Regions from separate parts of the Homo sapiens genome. Here regions 1, 2, 3, 4, 5 and 7 are each linked to region 6. The links are contacts of gene promoters, found by promoter capture Hi-C in blood cells and fetal thymus (Javierre and others, 2016). All regions are on one chromosome and are shown on one strand. The core of a region is centred on a gene start or on the middle of the fragment in contact, and the rest is flanking DNA. Distances in the headings are between cores, read along the strand shown.

Evidence for each region. The method cuts DNA at HindIII sites, captures the fragments that hold promoters and counts their contacts. A CHiCAGO score of 5 or more calls a contact.
Region 1: a contact is called between a fragment that was not itself captured here and the fragment with the promoter of TESK2 in region 6, in 1 of 17 cell types (total CD4 T cells). The highest score is 5.1, in total CD4 T cells.
Region 2: a contact is called between the fragment with the promoter of BEST4 here and the fragment with the promoter of TESK2 in region 6, in 13 of 17 cell types (erythroblasts, naive CD4 T cells, megakaryocytes and 10 more). The highest score is 16.0, in erythroblasts.
Region 3: a fragment that was not itself captured here is called in contact with the fragment with the promoter of TESK2 in region 6 in 1 of 17 cell types (non-activated CD4 T cells); the score reaches 5.9 in non-activated CD4 T cells.
Region 4: a contact is called between a fragment that was not itself captured here and the fragment with the promoter of TESK2 in region 6, in 8 of 17 cell types (naive CD4 T cells, total CD8 T cells, total CD4 T cells and 5 more). The highest score is 15.0, in naive CD4 T cells.
Region 5: a fragment that was not itself captured here is called in contact with the fragment with the promoter of TESK2 in region 6 in 10 of 17 cell types (fetal thymus, erythroblasts, total B cells and 7 more); the score reaches 13.8 in fetal thymus.
Region 7: a contact is called between a fragment that was not itself captured here and the fragment with the promoter of TESK2 in region 6, in 1 of 17 cell types (naive CD4 T cells). The highest score is 5.1, in naive CD4 T cells.

What each region holds. Positions count from the first base shown.
Region 1 is chr1:44,690,155-44,693,001 of GRCh38, forward strand. All of the region lies in intron 2 of ARMH1 (armadillo like helical domain containing 1), which reads left to right. All of the region lies in intron 4 of LOC105378690 (a long non-coding RNA gene), which reads right to left. Among named protein-coding and RNA genes, the nearest start is that of ARMH1, 17 kb to the left of the region's middle. The HindIII fragment of the contact is 905 bases long and covers 800-1,704 here.
Region 2 is chr1:44,786,792-44,789,810 of GRCh38, forward strand. BEST4 (bestrophin 4) reads right to left here and starts at 1,379. Exons shown (of 9, transcript NM_153274.3): 1 at 763-1,379; 2 at 581-675. The coding sequence starts at 914. RefSeq lists an enhancer at 1-607. The HindIII fragment of the contact is 5,761 bases long and covers 1-3,019 here.
Region 3 is chr1:44,630,183-44,633,200 of GRCh38, forward strand. RNF220 (ring finger protein 220) reads left to right here. Exons shown (of 15, transcript NM_018150.4): 6 at 2,161-2,203. Among named protein-coding and RNA genes, the nearest start is that of SNORD145, 39 kb to the right of the region's middle. RefSeq lists enhancers at 1,295-1,394, 1,487-2,034, 1,725-1,814, 2,425-2,514, 2,584-3,018 and a silencer at 1,845-2,154. The HindIII fragment of the contact is 3,724 bases long and covers 1-3,018 here.
Region 4 is chr1:44,709,868-44,713,164 of GRCh38, forward strand. The region is part of intron 6 of ARMH1 (armadillo like helical domain containing 1); the gene reads left to right. The region is part of intron 2 of LOC105378690 (a long non-coding RNA gene); the gene reads right to left. Among named protein-coding and RNA genes, the nearest start is that of RNU5F-1, 10 kb to the right of the region's middle. RefSeq lists a silencer at 3,211-3,270. The HindIII fragment of the contact is 9,625 bases long and covers 1-3,297 here.
Region 5 is chr1:44,731,153-44,734,270 of GRCh38, forward strand. RNU5D-1 (RNA, U5D small nuclear 1) reads right to left here and starts at 18; the gene lies at 1-18. RefSeq lists a silencer at 2,125-2,419. The HindIII fragment of the contact is 2,150 bases long and covers 419-2,568 here.
Region 6 is chr1:45,489,183-45,492,442 of GRCh38, forward strand. TESK2 (testis associated actin remodelling kinase 2) reads right to left here and starts at 1,981. Exons shown (of 11, transcript NM_007170.3): 1 at 1,670-1,981. RefSeq lists enhancers at 1,639-1,688, 1,975-2,269 and a silencer at 1,919-2,138. The HindIII fragment of the contact is 2,357 bases long and covers 257-2,613 here.
Region 7 is chr1:44,668,151-44,671,313 of GRCh38, forward strand. All of the region lies in intron 1 of TMEM53 (transmembrane protein 53), which reads right to left. SNORD145 (small nucleolar RNA, C/D box 145) reads right to left here and starts at 2,906; the gene lies at 2,807-2,906. The HindIII fragment of the contact is 1,523 bases long and covers 845-2,367 here.

The DNA.
Region 1 (2,847 bases), core at 2-2,501, 800 kb before region 6:
TTGCAGTGAGCCGAGATCATGCCACTGCACTCCAGCCTGGGCAACAGAGTGAGACTCTGTCTCAAAACAAACAAACAAACAAAAATTAGGCAGCCTTCAAAAATGAAAAGGAGAGGAGATTGTCAAAGGGGTTTTCTCTTGATTCTGATATTTTAGAACAGACATCTGGTGTTTAAAAAAAAGTGATAAAAAAAAAATCCTTAGAGTCAAGAACTCTCTCAGCTTCCTGTGTTCCCAACCTATAATTGTATTTCTTTCTCACCCCTAACCTCTTTTGCTCCCATCAGAGTTGAAGTAGGTATACCTTCTGTCTAGGGCTAATCCTCTATTTGTACTGCACTTGAACCCTTTCCTATCTCCTTATTCTTTCTCTCCTATAGCTTTCACCTTTGCCTCATAACCAGCGTTTTTTCAGCATTTATATATGCTGAAATCTCTTCTACTTTAAAAAATAAAATTGAATCCCTGTTTCAAATCTATATTCCACCCAACCCCAATTTCTGCCCTTCATGGTGAAGCTTCTTTTGTTTGTTTGTTTATTTGAAACAGAGTCTCTCTCTGTGGCCCAGGCTGGGGTGCAATGGCACAATCTCAGCTCACCGCAACCTCTGCCTCCCCAGTTCAAGTGATTCTCCTGCCTCAGCCTCCTGAGTAGCTGAGACTACAGCCATGTACCACCACACCTGGCTAATTTTTGTATTTTTAGTAGAGACAGGGTTTCACCATGTTGGCCAGGCTGGTCTCAAACTCCTGACCTCAAAATGCTGGGAGTACAGGCATAAGACACCGCGCCCAGTGAAGCTTCTTGAAAAGGTTGTTGAGGGGCGGGGCGCGGTGACTCACGCCTGTAATCCCAACACTTTGGGAGGCCGAGGTGGGCGGATCACCTGAGGTCAGGAGTTTGAGACAGCCTGGCCAACAAGGGAAACCCCGTCTCTACTACAAATACAAAACTTAGCTGGGCATGGTGGCACATGCCTGTAATCCCAGCTACCCGGGAGGCTGAGGCAGGAGAATCATTTGAACCCGGGAGGCGGAGGTTGCAGTGAGCCAAGATCGCGCCATTGTACTCCAGCCTGGGCCACAGAGACAGACTCCATCTCAAAACATTTTTTAAAAATTATAAAAATAAAGGTTGTTGAGTCTCCCTGTCTCCACTTCCTCTCCTCCCTTTTCTCCACTTGCTGCCATCTGACTTCGGTGCCTCCCACTCCACTGATGCAGGTCTTGCTAAGGTTACCCATGTTTTTCCAGTTGCAAAACCCAGGGACTGCATCCTCAGTCCTTATAGGTGACCTCTCAGTGGCATTTGTCAATCAACCTTTCCCACTTCTCAAAACACTCCTGGTTTCTCTGATACCGATTATCTTGGTGTCTATGCATTTCCCGCTCTTCTTCAGCCACCCCTTAAATGCTGTTCCTTGGGATTCCATCCTCGTCCCTCTTCTCTACTCACTCTCAGATTCTCCCTGAGGGACTAGTTCATTGTCAAGATTCAACACCACTCTTGTATGAGGGCTTTCAAATAAGTATCCCTGCCCAAATTTCTCTCTTGAATCTGAGTTCCATACCTATATATCCAACTATTCCATACCCATATATCCATCTTCACTCATATGCCACAAGATGAGTGTCACATATCTGACTTAGTAAACTAGGGGAATATGGTGCCATTATGTGGAAGAGAACATAAGAAGAGGAGTAAGCTTGAGGGTAGATAAGCTTGTTTTGGGACATGTTGAGTTTGAGATGTCTGTGCTCAGGATCCCTGGAGGCAGGTCAAGGCTAAAGACAGATCTGGTCACCGTCAAGGTGATAGTTCAAGTTATAGGAGGATTTGAGGATATTCCTGCTCTGTGTGCCCATAGCACTCTACAGATTTATCTCAGACCCTTTTATTGTATATTTCTGTCCTTGCCTGAACCCTCTCGCCTTCTCTAAACCCCTTCCTTGACCCATGCACAGTGACTTACACCTATAATCCCAGCTACTTGGGAGGCTGAGGAGGGAGGATCACTTAGGCCTTGGAGTTTGAAGCTGCAGTGAGCTATGATCACACCGCTGTGTTCTATCCTGGGCGATGGAGCAAGACCTCATCTCTATAAAAATAAATAAACCCCCTCCTTATTTGACCAACTCCTACTCTATTATTCAGGTCTCAATTTAAACATCACTTTCTCAGGAAGCCCATTTCTGAGTCCCAGGCTAGCTTAGGTTCCCTTCTTATATATATTCATAGACTTCCTCTGCCTTAATAATCATAACATTTTATTGTTATTACCTGCTTAATATCTCTCTTTCCCCCCACTGGATTTTAGATCCAGTGGGCAAGAATCGCATCTGTTCTACTTATCTTTATATTTCTAACATGTAGCACAATGCCTGGCACATGTTTGCTGAGTAGAGGAATGAATGACCCAGCATCTGCAGCTGGGAAGAATTAAAGGTTTAAGTAAACACTGCTCTCTTTCTTACATTTAAGTTATTGATAAAATTATTTTTCAGACTCAGGCCTGTAACACAGGCCAAAGGGAATAACCATGGAATACATCTGTAGGTTTACCCAAATGTTCTTTTTTTGTTTGTTTGTTTGTTTGAGACAGGGTCTTCCTCTGTTCCCCAGGCTGGAGTACAGCAGCACAATCATAGCTCACTGCAGCCCCAAACTCCTGGAGACTCAAAGGATCTTCTCACCTCAGCCTCCCAAGCAGATAGGACTATAGGCGTGCACCACCACACTCAGCTAATTTTTCTGTTTTTAAAATTTTTTTAGACACGGGGTCTTGCTATGTTGCCCAAGCTGGTCTCAAACTCCTGGCCTCATGCGATCTTCCCACCTTAGCCTCC
Region 2 (3,019 bases), core at 129-2,628, 700 kb before region 6:
CCAGTTGAATCGTGGCAGGGGGAAGGAAACATTCAGCTCCAGTGCCCTGCTGTGCGAGGCCAGGAGGAGGGAGGAGGGCAAACTTCCTTCAGCAGAGGGAAAGTGGGGATTCAAAGCCAGGAGACTGCTTCCCAGGAGGGTGGGGAAGGGGTTGTCACCTCTGTCCAGCTCCCCTGCAGTGCCCAGGGTGGGCTTGTGAGGCCAGCAGGTGTCTTGTGCCTTGCTGGAAGTGAGGGTCCGGCAAGTGATAGGGCCCTGCCCTCTGGAAGTCCTGGACCCAGCACCCAGCTCCTGTGCCTGCTGGGCCTGCTCTGGCTGACCAGGAAGGCTCTGCCACCGTGTTGAGTAATTCTTTTTTTTTTTTTTTTTTTTTTTAGCAGAGTCTCGCTACATTGCCCAGGCTGGACTGGAACTCCTGGGCTCAAGCGATCCTCTCACCTCAGCCTCTCGAGTAGCTGAGACTGCAGGTGTGTCACCACACCATCTGTTGGGTAATTCTGACCCTCGGAGCTGTCAACCCAACCCAGAGGTCAGGGAACACAGTAAGGGGGACACAGGGAAAACTAGAAGGGAGCCTTACCCAATACAAAGGACAAGGGAATGAGGTCTGCTGAGCGGTTGCAGTACCGGGCCACCTGAGCATACACGTACCTCTGCTCCTGGGTCAGCAGCAGCCTGGGGAAGGCAGGTGTAGGCTTGGGTTAGAGGGAGGTGGGTGGCCCAGTCTCCCCACTTGCGCCAGCTCTAAGACCCTGCCCTTACCGGTAGGTGATGCTAAGCACAGCGTACAAGGCCCCAAAGAGGAGGAATTCCTTGTAGAGGAGCTTGTAGATGCTTCCCCTCCAGCGGAGAAGCAGGCCAGAGAAACCTCCGAAGCGGGCCTCCGCCACTTTGAGAGTGTATGAAACCGTCATGGTGCTGGGAGCCTGGGGCAGGAGGTCACAAGAGTTGCCCCCAGGGCTGTCGTTTAGTTCTCCAGACAACCTCCCTTCCACTCTGGTCTCACACACCCCAGCCTTCACCCTGCGTCAGTGGACAAGGGGGTAGGAGCCTGCAGAGCAGAAAAGTACACCCCACCCCCTGCAGAACTGAGCAGTACATGGGCAAAGCCAGGCTAGAGTTGGACAAGGTAGAACTGAGATCTGTGTCCCTTCATGCATGAGGTTTCCTCAAGCTCCTCTTCAGCCTGCAGGGCTAGGGATAACCAGATCCTGAACTGCTGCGGACAAGAGACGCAGCTCCAGCCCAAATCCACTGCTATTCCTTGGGGCCTTGCTTTGGAAGCTGATTAACTAGAACTACCAGGGCCCAGGGCACTCTCACCCCCATCCCATACCTGCCTACCTGCTCTGGGCAGCAGCCCGTGTGGAAGATGAACTGGGCTAGACTTCAACCCCCACAGACTTAAGTACCTCTGCAGTCCATAAAGTTAGGCTGGACTGAGGCCTATCATTGATGGATTGAAGCTGTCATCCAGCTTCCCCTGGTGCTGGGAACTGGGTGTGTCTCCTTACCCCTGTAGGGTTGGGCTGGCCTTCGAGTGGCAGAAATGCCAGCTATACTGACCCCACAGCTCACACAGACGACACCATGTCCTTCAAGCCAGTATGACAGGGGTTATTGTCCCACGTTTCAGGTGGGAAGACAGATGCATGATAAACTGTTATAATAATACCAGCTGCTGATCACAGAGCACTGACTAAGTGACAGGAACCATGCCAAGGGCACTACTAGGTCATCCTCTCAAGAAATCCTCATCACAGCACCATGAGGTAGGGAATCAATCATCCACATTTCACAGATGAGGCTCCAAGAGGTAAATGACTTGCCCGCCGTCGGCCATACAGCTAGAACATGTTGGAGGCAGGATTCAAAGCCAGGGCTGATGGACTTCCAAGGCTGGAAGTGGCCTAGCAAAGGCATGAGCTCCAGGACCCATCCTGTGCACTGGCCACACTCCCAGTCTTCTTGTACAGGGGCTTGGGGGCTTGGCCAGGCTCTTCTCCATCCATGCCACGGGGCTGACAGCCACAGATCTGGAAGCTCAGGCCTAGGAGTGCAGGCTCCGTTAAGCCCTGTGTCCAACATCCTGACTCCTAGGGGTGCCCAAGATTTGAGTGGCCACTTTCACCTCTGGAGGAAGTAATACCTAAGGCGCTGATAGAAATAGAACTTCCGCTGCCAGGCAAGGTGGCTCACACCTGTAATCCTAGCACTTTGGGCAGCCTCAACGCAGGTGGATCACTTGAGGTCAGGAGTTCGAGACTAGCCTGGCCCAACATGGTGAAACCCTGTCTCTACTAAAAATACAAAAATTAGCCGGGTGTGGTGGCACGAACTTGTAATCCCAGCAGGTACATGGGAGGCTGAGGCAGGAGAATTGCTTGAACCTGGGGAGGCGCAGGTTGCAACGAGTTGAGATCGTGCCACTGCACTCTAGCCTGGGTAATCAAAAAAAAAAAAAAAAGAAAAGAAAGAAAGAAAAAGAAAAAGAAAAAGAAATAGAATCTCAATGGGAGAATCGCTTGAACCCGGGAGGGAGAGGTTGCAGTGAGCTGAGATTGTGCCACTGCACTTCAGCTTGGGTGACAGAGACTCTGTCTCAAAAAAAAAAAAAAAAAAAAAGGCCAGGCACTGTGACTCACGCCTGTAATCCCAGCACTTTGGGAGGCCGAGGCAGGCGGATCACCTGAGGTCGGGAGTTCGAGATCAGCCTGACCAACATGGAGAAACCCCATCTCTACTAAAAATACAAAATTAGCTGAGCATGGTGGCACATGCCTGTAATCCCAGCTACTCCGGAGGCTGAGACAGAAGAATCGCTTGAACCTGGGAGGTGGAGATTGCGGTGAGCCGAGATCATGCCATTGCACTCCAGCCTGGACAACAAGAGCAAAACTTTGTCTCAAAAAAGAAAAAGAAAAAGAAAAAAGAAAAGAAAAGAAATAGAACCTCAAAGTGGAAGAGAATTGGCAGCTTACTTACCCTCCCAGTGCTGAGGTAAGTGAACACTGAAAAA
Region 3 (3,018 bases), core at 186-2,685, 860 kb before region 6:
CTGCATTGGCTTTCCAAAGTGCTAAGATTAAAGGCATGAGCCTTGGTTTCTGGTTTGAATTCTCATTTACTTAGCCCCTGCTGACTAACTAACCCTCTTTATCATTACCTCACTTAAACCTCATAGCAACTGTATTCATCATGCCCAGTCTATTACCAAGGAAACAGGCCTAGAAAGAGGTGACTCTTCTAAGAACACATAAATTGTAAGTAACAGAATTAGGACTTGAACTTGAGTCTGTCTGGCCCTAAATCCGAGATTGTTTCCCAACCCATCACTGGGCTCAGGGCTTATCTCATAAAGTCTTTCTCCCGTTCCCACTGGTGTCTCCTTCATGCAAGACGCTGTGCTGGGTAAATGGCTAGAGATGACCTTCCAAGTACAAGGGACAGATATGTAAACAAACAATCAAAATATACATGATCAAAGAGAAGCAGTGGAACTGAAAACTCAGAGGAGGCATCAAACCCAGGCTTGGGGGACAAAACTAAGTCTTGCCAGAGTCCTGAAGGATGAACAACAGTTAACCAAGCAAGGGATACTGGAGGGCATGGAGGCTCTCTGGCCTGGAGTGCAGAGCATGGAGTGCTCAAAGAGCTAGTTAGCTCTGCAAAGCTGAGTGTCAGGAATGTAAAGGGAGAGAATAGGAGTGAGAGAAGAGTCTGGCAAGGCAGACAGGGAAGGCCTATATGCCTTGATGGAGAACCACTGAAGGATTTAAAGAAGGAGAGGGTTAATTTTGTCCAATAGAAAGATCACATTGTGTGTAGTGTGGAGGATGGGTTGCAGAGAGAGAAGCTAGAGACCAAAAGATGAGACGGGAACAGCTGCAAATTTCGAGAGCTCGTAAGATTATGTATGACTGGAGCACAACGACAACCAAGGTAGGTACAACCATGGAAGAACAACTCAGGGCTGACTTGCCTTTGCCCAGTGCCATGCTGGGCTCTGGGTTCACCCAAATAATTCACACACGGCCCCAACCCTGAAGTGGTCAGTCCACTGATAAAAACTTCACAAGCGATGATAACGGCGCAGAGATGAATGTACTCTTACACAAGGCAAAGCTATTTTTCAGTTAGACCTGGAAGGATGAGTAGGAGATACAGAGGTGGAGATGAGAAAATTAGCGACCTTTCAATGTACACTTTCAGGATCTAGAAAAGGATTGAGTGTGAGGGATGGAGAAAGTGGGGTCCAGGACGACTCTCAACTTTCTTCTGTGGGCACACCTGAGTAGATAGTGGCTTCCTCTTATGAACAGGGAACCCAAGAGGAAGGCCTCTGTTTGGAGGATACTGAGTTCCATGTTGGCCATGTTGGCCGTGTGGGTATGCAGTGCCTATGGGAGCTCCAGGGGCCGTGCAGCAGACAGCTGACATGTTGGGAGTCCTCTGATAACAGAACTGGATGGCCTAGGGGTTGGGCGGGGATCGCCCACAGGCGATAGGGAATTCGGACGCCTTGTCCCCTGTAAAGCACCCAACGCGATGCCTCTGCCCTAAGGGCAGCCGCGAGAAAGGCAGGCACAGGAGGCGGGAGCCGGGGCCGGGCGATGGGGCGGAAGGAGCCCCGCAGCGGGAGGGGTCGTGGAGTGGGGTGGAAGGACTTCGCAGCCGCTAAAGATTGGGTGGGTAGGCTTCACGGGCGGTGGGAGGGACCCCGGGGAGGCTTCTGCCGGTTGCTACCCGAGTACAAACGGCAGCTTCCTGGTCTCTGTCCGGCCGCCCCCGCCGCATTGTGAACTTTCACCCCCAGCGCGCGACGGCGGCAGATCACGTGATTAGGGCCAACATGGCCGCCGCCGCCGCTTGGAGCTGAAGTGCCGCCGCCGCCGGGCAGCCACGGGGAATCCGCCCGCATCGCCGCCCTCGCCGGCCGGGCGGCCGTGGGGCCCAGAGCGCCGGAGGCCAGGGCTGGGGCGGCACCGCGCAGCGGCCACGGGGTCCCGTTAGAGCAGCGCCCGGCGGCTATGCCGAGAGCCCGGAGCGGCCGGAGGAGCAGAGGGGCCGGCGGGAGGGAGGAAGTAGGTTTGTTTACGGGCTGTTTGGGGCGGAGCAGCTTTGGTCGGGGGTCCGGTGCTGGGGCGGGGGCCAGGACTGCAGGCCGCGCCTGACGCTCTCTTTTCTTTTCTTGCATCTGCCCGCGATCTTCTCCCAGACCTTTCTGCGAGTACGAGCCAACCGGCAGACCCGACTGAATGGTGAGTCCTGCCCGGCCCCTCCCTCCGCCCCACCCCCGGCCTCCTCCCTCCCTCCCTCACTGCCTGCCGCTCCTGGCTTGCCTGGGTCTCTTCGACTCTGGGGCCCGTTGGCTTCTTCGCAGTCACGGCGCCTGAGTATGTGCAAACCAAAGCTGCCGCTCTCAGTTTCCCCGTCTGTCTAATGGAGGTATGGCGCCCAGCTCTTGCCCAAACCTCTCTAAAGGCCCTGAAGAACCCTGGGGGGGCAATAAGTGCCGGAGAATGAGGAACGAGCTACACAATTCTACTCGGGAGCTCAGCTTTGAATTTGCAAACTGCTGGGACCTCACTATACAAACCTGCAGGGCGCTGAGAATGTTTTTCTTCCAGTTTTTAATCAGTGCCCAGTAGTGTGAATACAGCCCCTCTGCTGAGACTTGACAATACAGTGAGATCTGGAGTTCCCACGGCAACAGGAACTAACTCATCCCAGGGCTCTTTGAGTTATCAGTCGGCCCACATTTCACAAAGGTGATCAGCGTGGGCTCGACAGCTCTTAGAGGCCTTCTCTGAAAGCAGGCCGTGTATGCACTACCTAGCAGCCCCCCTTTTGGATTCAAACCTCTGGAGCATTCCTGTTTGCTGAATACAATTGAATGATCCTAGCTTTTTGTGCTTACTGGGGTGTGGTATCTGGGGGGTGGCTGTAAGGGGTTTAGGGTCTCTGGGTCAGCTGGTAAGTGAGAGAGGCCATGGAGTTCAAGATCCCCAGCTCTTATCACTTGGTTTCTGCTGCCAGGCTGAGCCCTAGTCTGGAAAAGGGAGAAATTCATGAT
Region 4 (3,297 bases), core at 576-3,075, 780 kb before region 6:
ATACGTATAAGAATCAAGTCCATGGTAAAATGGAACTGTTTATGAATTTGGAAAATGGTCATTTGTAGAATACAATTTTTGTCTACTTGACCTAGAACCTGGAATTAACTTGACTTGCTAATCAAATGATCATTTCATATATTAATAGCGAAGTTGAAAGTATGGTTCATCAGCCCCAAAGTACAACAGTGGGGCTTGTAGCTGAGCGAACTCTCGCACTAACACAGTGGAATCCTCTAGAGATGCTAGTGCAGGGAAACAGTGGCCCTAACTGACCAAACCGAACAGACATGGACAAGGCTTTGAATGCGTGACACCTCCTCCCCTGGCCCCCTGAAACCTGGAGAGACTGGTGGTCGCAAGAACCTCATTGTTAGTTTCCTTCGGTTCTTGGCTGTGTAAAGTTACTTAGGTTCCTAATTCTAAGAGGTATGATTGATCTAGAAATTAATCACAGATTGGCCGGGCATGGTGGCTCACACCTGTAATCCCAGCACTTTGGGAGGCCAAGGCAGGTGGATCACGAGGTCAGGAGATCGAGACCATCCTGGCTAACACGGTGAAACCCCGTCTCTACTAAAAATACAAAAAATTAGCCGGGCGTGGTGGTGGGCGCCTGTAGTCTCAGCTACTCGGGAGGCTGAGGCAGGAGAATGGCGTGAACCCAGGAGGTGGAGCTTGCAGTGAGCCGAGATCATGCCACTGCACTCCAGCCTAGGCAACAGAGCAAGACTCCGTCTCAAAAAAAAAAAAAAAAAAAAAGAAAAGAAATTAATCACAGATTTGGTTTACTTCTTTCTTCATAAAAGCACATTTTTTAACTGAGATGACATTCACATAACATAAAATTAACCATTTTAAAGTGAACAATTCAGTGGCATTTAGTATACATTCACAGTGTTGTACAACCACCATCTCTATCTAGTTCCAAAACATTTTCATCCCCCCAAAAGGAAACCCTGAATTCAGCGAGCAGCTATTCCCCTTCCACTCCCTCCAGTCCCTGGGAAGCCCCAATCTTCATTCTGTCTCTATGGATTTACCTATTCCATATATTTCACATAAATGGAATTATACAATACATGACTTTTATGTCTGGCTTCTTCCACTTAGCATAATATTTTCAAGGTTCACCCACATTGTAACATGCATCAGTACTTCATTCCTTTTTGTGGATGAATAATATTCCGTTGTATGTATCTACCACAATTTGTTTATCCATTCATTCATTATTAGACATTCGGGCTATTTCCAGCCTTTGGCTCTTGTGAACCAGTGCTTCTATGAACATCCACATACATGTAATTGAGTACCTGTTTTCAGTTCTTTGGGGTATATTACCTAGGAGTGGAATTGCTGGATCATATGGTAATTCTGTTTAACTCGTTGAGGAACCCACTAAACTGTTTTCCACAGTAGTTGTACCATTTTACATTCCCAGTAGCAGCAATATATGAGGATTCCAATTTCTCCACTTCCTCACCAAACTTGTTATTCTGGGGATTCTTTAATTATAGCCATCTTAGTGGATGCGAAGTGCATTTTCCTAATGAATAAGGATGTTGAACATAGACGTGTTTCATAGACTTGTTGTCCATTTGTATTTCTTCTTTGGAGAAATGTCTATTCAGGTCCTTTTTCCATTTTAAAATTGGTTGTTGGGTTGTAAGAGTTTTTCATATATTCTAGTTTCTGTGCTCATCAAATATATGGTTTCTCCCATTCTGTAGGTTCTTTTCACCTTCTTGATAATGTCCTTTGTTGTTTTCATTTTCAATGATTTAAGTTTCTCATTTATTCATTTACTTATTCAAAAAGAATGGCACTGGGGTGGGCACTGAGAGTATAGTGACAAATGAAACAAGTCCTTGTTCTCACAGAGCTTTGTTACAACAGTGATACTAATGGTAATGTTAACTCATAACTACTACTAGTGACCAACAATGACTGTGTGCCCAGCATTGTTCTAAGCTCTTTTACCATCTCATCTATTCCTCAGAACAACTCTGTGAAGTAGGTACTATTTTCATCCCCAGTTTACAGATGAGGAAACTGAGGCACAAAGCAATTAAATAACCTGTCCACAGTCTCAAAATGATAAATGAGAAAGCTGTAGATCAAACCCAGTCAGTCTGCCTCCTGCGCCCATCCCCTCACCACCACACTATTCTTTCTTCAGTATTAGAACAAGACTTGCCTTGTTTTTACCAGCTTTGAGAAGTAGATAAAAACCCAAGGACACCCTTTTAATCCCAGCACTTTGGGAGCCCGAGGCGGGCAGATCACTTGAGGCCAAGAGTTTGAGACCTGGCTGGGCGCAGGGGCTCTCACCTGTAATCCCAGAACTTTGGGAATCCAAGGCGGGCGGATCACCTGAGGCCAGGAGTTCGAGACCAGCCTGGGCAACAAGGTGAAATCCTCTCTCTACTAAAAATACAAAAATTATCTGGATATGTGGCAGGAGCCTGTAATCCCAGCTACTTGGGAGGTTGAGGTAGGAGAATCACTTGAACCTGGGAGGCAGAGGTTGCAGTGAGCCGAGATCGTGCCACAGCACTCCAGAGTGGGCAACAAGAGTGAAACTCCATGAAACTCTGTCTCTACTAAAACTACAAAAATTAGCTGGGCATGGTGGCTCACACCTGTGGTCCCAGCTACAGGGAACCGCAAAAAAAAAAAAAAAAAAAAAAGGACAGACAACATTGTTAAGATTACAGTAAACCATATTTTTAAAATTATGTTTTCTTAGCTTCATACCCCTCACAGGGTTAAGCAAATACATCAGGATTTCTTCTTTTTTCTTTTTTTTTTTTTGAGATGGAGTCTTGCTCTGTTGCCCAGGCTGGAGTGCAGTGGTGCGATCTTGGCTCACTGGAACCTCTGCCTCCGAGGTTCAAGCGATTCTCCTGCCTCAGCCTCCCAAGAAGCTGGGATTACAGGCATGTGCCACCACGCCCAGCTAATTTTTATAACTTCAGTAGAGACAGGGTTTCACCGTGTTGGTCAGACTGGTCTCAAACTCCTAACCTCAGGTGATATACCCGCCTCAGCCTCCTAAAGTGCTAGGATTACAGGCGTGAGCCACTGCACCACCTGGGTCTCATTTAAAAACTAGTGTTTTTGCCTTACAGAACGTTATGCCTTTGCTTTGCACTTTTTTTTTTTTTAAGACGGAGTCTCGCTCTGTCACCCAGGCTGGAGTGCAATGGCAAGAGCTACTGCGCCCGGCCTTTTTTTTTTTTTTTTTTTTTGAGACAGTCTTGCTTTGTCACCCAGGCTGAAGTGCAGTGGCATGAT
Region 5 (3,118 bases), core at 244-2,743, 760 kb before region 6:
GAAGAGAAACCAGAGCATGTGTTGGAATGGTTGCACACAGTCCTCGGGGGACGGTCACTACTAGATTAGCAATGGTTACTATTAACCCAAAAGAGTGACTTCTGTTTTTGTCTCAGACGATTGTGTGAAAGGAGCTTCGTTATTATGGTAAAGGAAAAGAGGGGGAAAAAAGGGAGAATCTCCTTTTAAAGTAGGACGTGGTCTGTGTGCAGTGCATTGTGGGTATGTAAATGACGCTGAGTCACCACCCCCTCGGTTTCCAGAAATACCTTAAATAGTTCGTTACTTTTTCTAGGCGTTAGGCCACCACCAGGGGGCAGAGCGGAAGCCAGATTTACAGAACTGTAGATGCCTGGTCCAACTAGACAGTGACTTTATTTTATAATTGGCACTTAAAGTAAAAAAAAAAAAAATTAAAAGCTTTAAAATAATTGTATTCATAGGCCTGGCGCGGTGGCTCACGCCTGTAATCCCAGCACTTTGGGAGGCCGAGGCGGGCGGATCACGAGGTCAGGAGATCGAGACCATCCTGGCCAACATGGTGAAACCCCGTCTCTACTAAAAATACAAAAATTAGCTGGGCGTTGTGGCGTTCGCATGTAGTCACAGCTACTTGGGAGGCTGAGACAGGAGAATTGCTTGAACCCAGGAGGCGGAGGCTGCAATGAGCCGAGACTGCACCACTGCACTCCAGCCTGGGCAACAGGAGACTCCACCTCAAAAGAAAAGAAAAGAAAACCACATCATAGCAAATACTGAATTTTGTATCATCCCTCTGCCTTCCACAGTATGTAACAAAGACTCCAAAAAGAGTAGCTTGAACAAGCAAGAAGTTTATTTTCACCTTACCTGAAGGAAGCCCGGAGAAGAAATTCTGAGTTGTTACAGAGGTGTCAGGGCTTAGAACATGATACCCCAACATATGGCACCTTGGCATACTGAGTATTTTAAGCCATCAAAGAAACTGAGAAAACTATATAAGCAGGAAGTTATTTTTGACCTTTTCCTTCTCTTCTCCCATGAAGACCTTCGTGTGACCAGTGTCCTGCCTTATGCCCACAGGGAATGAATGTCACACAGAGGCCAAGAATAATCTGAACAAACAGGCTTTGCCAAGTACCCCCCCCACCCATCCAGTTTATTACCATTCGATCATACACTTTTTTTTTTTTTAAAGAGTCTCGCTCTGTCCCCCAGGCTGGAGTCCAGTGGCGCGATCTCTGCTCACTGCAAGCTCCGCCTCCCGGGTTCATGCCATTCTCCTGCCTCAGCCTCCTGAGTAGCTGGGACTCAGGCGCCTACCACCACGCCTGGCTAATTTTTTGTATTTTTAGTAGAGATGGGAGTTTCACTCTGTCAGCCAGGATGGTCTCAATCTCCTGACCTCGTGATCTGCCCGCCTTGGCCTCTCAGAGTGCTGGGATTACAGGCGTGAGCCACTGCGCCTGGCATTTTTTTTTTTTTTTTTTTTTGAGACAGTGTCTTGCTCTGTGTCCCAGGCTGGAGTGCAGTGGTGCAATCGAGGGCCACTGAAGTCTTGAACTCCTGGGATCAAGCAGTCCTCCTGCCTCAGCCTCCCAAGTAGCTAGGACTACAGAAGCATACTACCACAGCTGGCTAATTTTTAAATTTTTTGTAGAGATGACATCTTGCTATGCTGCCCAGGCTGGTCTTGAACTTCTGACCTCAAGCAATCCTCCTGCCTTGGCCTCCCAAAGTGCTGGGGTTACAGGCATGAGCCACTGCACCTGGCCAGAAAATTTTTGATCATTCCTTTATTAGCTATTAAAGCAAATGGAATGATAAAACATTTACTAAATATTCTAAAATTTACTAAAAATTTTACTAAAAATGTACTAAATTTTCTTGTGCCAGTTTTGACATTTTTGACTTTTTTTTTCTAGAAATGTAGAAACTTATTCACACAACAAGAAGTATGGAGACAGGTGGATCAGGAGGTCAGGAGATCAAGACCATCCTGGCTAACATGGTGAAACCCCATCTCTACTAAAAATATAAAAAATTACCTGGGCATGGTGGCACACGCCTGTAATCCCAGCTACTTGGGAGAATTGCTTGAACCCGGGAGGCAGAGGTTGCAGTGAGCTGAGGTCTCACCACTGCACTCCAGCCTGGGCGACAGAGCGAGACTCTGTCTCAAAAAAAAAAAAAAAAATGACATATGGAGATAGAAATTAAAAATGTATATATATGGAAGTAGGTAGTCGCTAGCATTGGTTCAACTACTGAACCATCAAGAACCCTCTTAGGCTCTTCCTGCTGTACTTGGCTGTCCTGAGCATGTTGGCTTTTAACCAAATTACTGTCTCCTGCCTCATGACCACAAGGCAGCTGTCACAACTCCAGAAAGAACATCCCATGTCCAAGCCAAGAAAAAAGGGATGACACCAGGAAAGCATTTTCTGTCATTCCCTTTTAACAGAAAAACAACAAGTCTTGCCCACAAGCCCCCAGAACTCTCCTGCTTACATCTCATTGGCCAGAACTGTGTCCCATGGCCAGCTCTAATTGCATGGGAGTCTGGGAAAGGAAGTATAGTAACTATAAAGCTTTTTCAGTCTCTAATGTGGAAATGATTTAGGAAGAAGGGGGTTGAGAATACCTGCTGAATTAACCATCAACAGTGTATGTCACAAACAGTTGGTTCATTTGTTTTCTACCCTATTTTCTTTATCCCTTCCTGATGTCTTTTGGGTGAATCCTCACCCTTGATCCTGTTGCTCCTCATTTCATTTTGGCTGTAACCATTCTGCTATTCAATTCATGTATGGATTTCAACTATTAAATTTTTCAAGCCTGGTATTTTCAGTTGCTTCTTCCTGCCTTAACAATATCCTTCCTTATCTTTTGAAGATGTTCATTATGCTTATTTCTTTTTTCTTTTTTTGAGATGGGGTTTGGCTCTTGTTGCTCAGACTGGAGTGCAGTGGTGCAGTCTTGGCTCACTTCAATCTCTGCCTCCCGGGTTCAAGCAATTCTCCTGCCTCAGCCTCCCTCCTGAGTAGCTGGGATTACAGGCGCCCGCCACCACACCCGGCTAATTTTTGTATTTTTAATAGAGATGGGATTTTACCATGTTGGCCAGATCAAGTGATCT
Region 6 (3,260 bases), core at 731-3,230:
GCACGTGACATTGATAGTCACCGCCCCCCACTCCCTTCTTGAAATCCTTTCTTTGGCTCCTATTATAATGCTGTTATGTTCTAGTTCTTGTCCCGTTCCTTTAATCTCTCTTTTTCAGTGTCTATTACCTTTCAAACAATGATGCTCCTTCTGGTCCACAGCCCTTCTCATCTTTCAGTATTACCATTCCATACTAAGGCACACAAATATCCCCCATATATTCTCTTGACCCTCCAAATTTATGTATCCAGGTCCAAGCTTTCTCCCAATTTTCAGACCCAAATTTCCAGATACCCACAGTGATATTTCAAAACACCTCAAACTCGGCTGGGAGCAGTGGCTCACGCCTGTAATCCCAGCACTGTGGGAGGCCGAGGTGGGCGGATTGACTGAGGTCAGACGTTCGAAACCAGCCTGGCCAACGTGGGGAAACCCCGTCTCTACTAAAAGTACAAAAATTAGCCGGACGTGGTGGCGCATGCCTGTAATCCCAGCTACTCGGTAGTCTGAGGCAGGAGAATCGCTTGTACCTGGGAGGAGGAGGTGGCAGTGAGCTGAGATCGTGCCACTGCACTCCAGCCTGGGTGACAGAATGAGACTCCGTCAAAAAAAACAAAAACTAACAAACAAACCCTGAAACTTAACTTGTTCAAAACCAAATTTATTACCTTCTCTCAAAATTGCTTTTTTATGCTCCCTATTTCAGATGAGATCAGGAGCGTTGAGGGTGGTATAACCAGAGACTATGTTCCCTATTTCAATTAACACTACCGATTCACACCATCAGCCAAGTCAGAAACTTTCTACTATTCTTCTCAACTTTATTTTGAAACCTCTTGGAATTTCGGGCCATTCCCTCCCGCCTGGATGAGCACACTCGTTTTCTGCCTACCTGGCCTTTCCGCCTCCACGGTCTTCACTTTCAATCCTTCCTCTATATTTTCACCAAAGATAATGCAATCATACCAAGCTCCTGCTTACAAAACCTTCAACGGCTCCCCATGCATGCAGCATGAAGTCCAAATTCCTCAGCAAGTTCTTCTCAGAGGTATACAATTTAAAGACTTTTAAATTACGCAAACCTGGATTTCGCTTGTAGCGAAATCTGAACACTGGCTTAGTCCACTCTTCACAGCGAAGAGTAAAAAGCAGAGAGGGGAAAGGAAGGGAGACGATGACAAGCGAGGAAAGAAGAGGGGGAAGGCAGTAGGGTCTGAGGGGAGGGAATTGTTTTCCTGGGTAGAGGTGAACGTTTTCGAGGGAAGAGTGTATCGGAGGGAAGTCAAGTGAAGGAACCCAGATCTCTGAGGCAGGAGCGGGTATGCGAGCAGGGAGGCGCTCAGTGGGGAGCTGGAAGTCTCTGAAACAAGAGTTTTCCGAGAAAACGAAAGATCCCTAATGCGAGCGAGGTAACTTCTAATGGGTTCCCAGGTTCTAAGGGGGAGCAGACGTGGCGGGGAGCCTGAGGGAAGTGAGAAGGAAAGGGGAAAGCGGCCAGGAAGGGAGCGTCCGCCGCCGCTGAGAGGGGGACCTCTGGGAAGCCGAGGGGTCCCGTCGGGTGCGGAGGGACGCAGGCGCCTCTGCTCCGGGGCAGAGGAGGTGGAGCGGCAGCGCGCGCGGGCCAGGCAGGATGCCCGGGTTTGTGACCCCCGTCCTCTTTTCACGTTACCTGAGGCAGGACTGAGCAGCCAGAGGGGTGCCTGCGCGGGCAAGAGGAGGAGACGGCGGCAAAGAGGGAGCATAGTAACCCTCACAGCTCGTTGGTGGCAGCGGCTCCTTAGCCTGCGGAGGCGGTGGGAGCCCCTAGCGCAGAAGCCGGCGACTCAGCTAGGCTAGCGGCGGCGGCGAACGAGGAGACTACTGCCATGGCCCCACAGTCGGGGCCGCTCCCCCCGCCTGTTTGGCGGGGCCAGGAGGACGATCCGACCAGCGAAGCCAACAGGGCAGCTGGTAGCTCTGCTGAGCTCCCGGGCCGCGAAAGACTGAAACGCCTACCCGGCCCAGCAGGGGGGTTGGGGGCGGGGTCTCGGCTGGCCACGCCCCTCCCTCAAGCCCTCCCTCAGAGTAGCCAGTCAACCGTCAACTCCTGATAAACGAGGTAGTGGAATTGCCCAATTAGCGCTAGGAATGCCACGTGGTATGAGGGTGGGCACAATGGGCGTCCAGAAAAGCCAATCAACAGCCGTAGGTGCCAACTCCGGAGGACGAAGGGAACCAATAGGAAGGAAGTCGAGGTAAAAACAGAAGAAGCAGTGTGTGGGAAAGGCGGAACCGAGGAGGAGGGAATACACCTGGGGGAAACCCAAGTCCAGGAGCCTCTTAGAGGGCGGGGCAGTAAACACAAGATGGACCAATAAAAATGTTAAACACAGAAATGATTGGTAATTGATAAAGCCAATAGAAAATGGACTAGACTGGCGCGGCTTTCGGGTTGGTCAAGGTATAGCTGAGTAAGGAAAAGCGGTAAGAATGCTGCGTCCTGCAGGATTTCAGTATAGTGAGGAGGAAAAAATATATCAATAATACCGACTTGAAATAGTAAGAGCAATCAGTAGAGCTAAACAAAATGCTAGGGAAGCAATTAATCATGACTATGAGATTCGGTTAAGTGAAAGCTTAGAGGAGGTAACACTTCAGCTAGCTTGAAAACAGATTTTGAAAGAAAGCTGGTGGGGAATAAGTTGGGATTTTTTGTTGTTTTTGTTGGTTGTTTTTTTTTTAGAAGGGTCTCACTCTGTCGCCCAGGATGATGGAGTGCAATGGAGCGATCATGGCTCACTTGCAGCCTCAAACTCCTGGATTAAGATGATCCTCCCAACTCAGCCTCCCCGGATAGCTGGGACTACAGGCACACGCCAGCATGCCTGACTAATTTTTTGTATATTTTGTAGAGACGGGGTTTACCATGTTGCCCAGGCTGGTCTGTAACTCCTGGACTCAAGTGATCGGCCCACGTTGGCCTACGAAAGTGCCGGGATTACAGGCGTGAGCCACCGCTCCCAGCTAAGAATTCTGCCCAGCTGTTCAAGGCACATATTTCTTCACTTTTTGCATGTGCCTGGACATCAGGAGCTCATAATCTCATGACTGAAGAGACTAGAACAGGAGGAGGGCAAGAGCAAGCAGTATGGGCCTTACTGTATTAGCACTCCCAGGGGTTAGAGACCCCTTTTCAGACATCTTAAGACTTTCATCCTCCTGGAAGAGTATAAGTGGTATGCATTCCTGGTGGCCATAAAGTTTAAGAAATATGGCCAGGG
Region 7 (3,163 bases), core at 356-2,855, 820 kb before region 6:
GCAAAAAATTGGCCAGACTTGGTGGCTCACGCCTGTAATCCCAGCACTTTGGGAGGCCGAGGTGGGCGGATCATGAGGTCAGGAGGTCAAGACCATCCTGGCTAACAGGTGAAACCCCGTCTCTACTAAAAATACAAAAAATTAGCCGAGCGTGGTGGCGGGCGCCTATAGTCCCAGCTACTCCGGAGGCTGAGGCAAGAGAATGGCGTGAACCCAGAGCTGAGATCGCACCACTGCACTCCAGCCTGGGCGACAGAACGATATTCTGTCTTAAAAATAAAATAAAATAAAAATAAAAATAAAATAACATGCAAAAAATTGAAAGAGTCTTAATTTTCTCTACTCCCCAGAAAAACTTTCTAGTGTCTCACAGTTCCTATATTTAAATCAAATTTTTCTTTTCTTCTTTGAGACAAGGTCTTTCTGTGTTGCCCAGGCTGGAGGGCAGTGGTGTAGTCATGGCTCACTGCAGCCTCGAACTCTTGGGCTCAGGTAATCCTCCTACCTCAGCCTCCCAAGTAGCTGGGACTATAGGCAAGCACCACCATGCTCAGCTAATTTTTGTATTATTTTGCAGAGGTAGGGTTTGGCCATGTTGCCCAGGCTGGTCTCAAATTCTTGGGCTCAAGCAATCCACCCCCCTCGGCCTCCCAAAGTGTTGGGATTACAGGCGTGAGCCACTGTACCCGGCCAAATTACTTTATTTTTTATTTACTTTTTAAAAGAAGAGCAGAGCAGAGTAGCATAGTATCTAAGAGTACATACTGTACAAAATCATATCTCGGTTCAAATCTCTGCCTCTGCCACTTAATAACTATGACACAGACCTTAATCAAGTTCTCTAAGCTTCAATTTCCTTATCTGTGAAATGGGGACAATGATACAAAGAATTAAATATGATAATAGCTATAGAGGGCTTATCATGGTGCCTGGCAGAAGGAAAGAGTTCAATAAATTGAAATTATTATTACTTCACAAGTAATGCATACTCACTGTAGAAAAAGTAGAAAATGAATATCTAATAAAATTGGAATCATATTGTTTGTAATCTGCTTTCTTCCGTTTGGCAATATATTGTGAACATTTTTCCCTGTCAGTTTATATATTTCTACACCATTATTTTTAGTGGCTTCAGAGAGGCTATAGAATGTTTCATAATTTATGGTGACCAAATCTCCCATTATTGGATATGATGCTGTTTCCAATTTTTTGCTGTTATAAAAATACTTTAATGGACACCCCTTTCTTTGTGCATGTCCCTAATTGTTTCCTAGAAATGGCATCGTATTCAGGCAGCCCCTCCTAATGGCAACTGAAATCTCGGCATGCACAAGCTCTGGAGTAAGGCTCTTAAGCTGAAATCTGGAATTACTTTGGGCAAGACACTTTACCTCCCCACGAGCATCTGTTCTTCATCTGTAAAACAGGATTAAGGGTTCTCCCTACTTCACAAGGTGGTTGTGAGGATTAATAAAATAATGAAAGGAGCTCCTGGTGGGCCTGGCATGTGGATAGAACATGGTTAACAGTGTTAAGTACCACAGACATTCAGAGAAAAGGAGGCCTGCAAAGAGGCCTGGATCTCAAATCCAGGGTCTAGTACAGCACCAGCACCTGGCATAGAGCAGACACTTAGAAAGCATCCTATTTTTTTTTTTTTTTTTTGAGACGGAGTTTCGCTCTCGTTACCTAGGCTGGAGTGCAATGGCACAATCTCGGCTCACTGCAACCTCCGCCTCCCAGGTTCAAGCGATTCTCCTGCCTCAGCCTCCTGAGTAGCTGAGATTATAGGCATGCGCCACCACACCCGGCTAATTTTGTATTTTTAGTAGAGATGGGGTTTCTCCATATTGGTCAGGCTAGTCTCGAACTCCTGACCTCAGGTGATCCGCCAACCTCGGCCTCCCAAAGTGCTGGGGTTACAGGTGTGACCCACCACGCCCAGCCAGAAAGGGCTCTTATCTAGAGGTGAAAGAAAAGAGATCATGATTCCAAAAATAAATACAACTCCTCTGTATTAAAAAAAAAAAAAAAGACCTTTGGGGTCCTCGTAGACAAGACAAGGATCAAATCCCAAACGACTCTCTTCACCTGGGTCTTTGAGGTCTGTCCATCATGACAGATCTTCAGGTTTTCATCTAATTCTCCACCCACAAAAGCACAGCGCGGCCTCCTGCCAGGCCCCTGTTCCCTCCAGCCACTCACTGTCCCCCTTCAGGGATTTACTTCTGCACTTTCTCCCATCCAAGTTCCAAGCAGGCCTGACACTGCTTAGCTTCTGAGATCTGCATGTTCAAGGTGGTATGGCCATGGACTTGACTTCCACACTTTCTGCTGCTCACCATGGGGGTCTGTCAGCCCTCCTGAAGCTTCAGGTCCAGCTTGGGCTGCTCTACTCTAGGAAGCCTCTCCCACCACAGGGCCCACCATGGTGGTCCAGACCCTTCAGCACTGTCTCCTGGGTGTCCGAGACAACTTCCTGAGGGTTAAAATGATGTCTATATTTCTTTGACCTCAGCCAGTGATGAGCAAAAAAGGCATGCGGTAAAACCTGGGGAGCAAAAACCCCCTCACTTCCCCTCTCTGTGATCCCCTTAAGACCTTCTGTTTACTTTAAGAGCAAAATGTTTGTCCCATGACCAGGCCCCAGACTCATTAATTCTATGAATGAATTTTTCTTTATGTTTACTGAACATGAGAGCCACACGGTGCCTTTAAGAAGGTTGCTGGCCTATGAGCAAGTCACAGAGGGGATCTAGGTGGGACTTGGCTGACCATTCTCTGGATGGGAGGAGGGGTGGCACGGCCTGGGCCTGGGATGTCAGAGCAGCTCTGGCTTGGGCCTACAGTGCTGCCAAGTGATTCCATTCAGCTCACTTGGTACATCATCCCTCCCAGGCCCTGGTGACAGTGAGTGAAGCCATCAAAAACACGACAACAGGAAAATATAGTGCTTATGGGAGCCCCAGGAGAGACCCTTCCCAAATGAAATGAAGTAAGAGAGGGTATTGAGAGACTGAGGGGATCACTGGCCTGGGAAAAAGAGAGGGAGGAGGGAAGACAGATTCTGGGTCAAACGACCGGCTTTAGCAAAGGCCTGGGCAGACGACCATCGGTGTGGGCAGCCAATAGGTACTGGCTGGTAGGATTCCCAGCAGAAGGA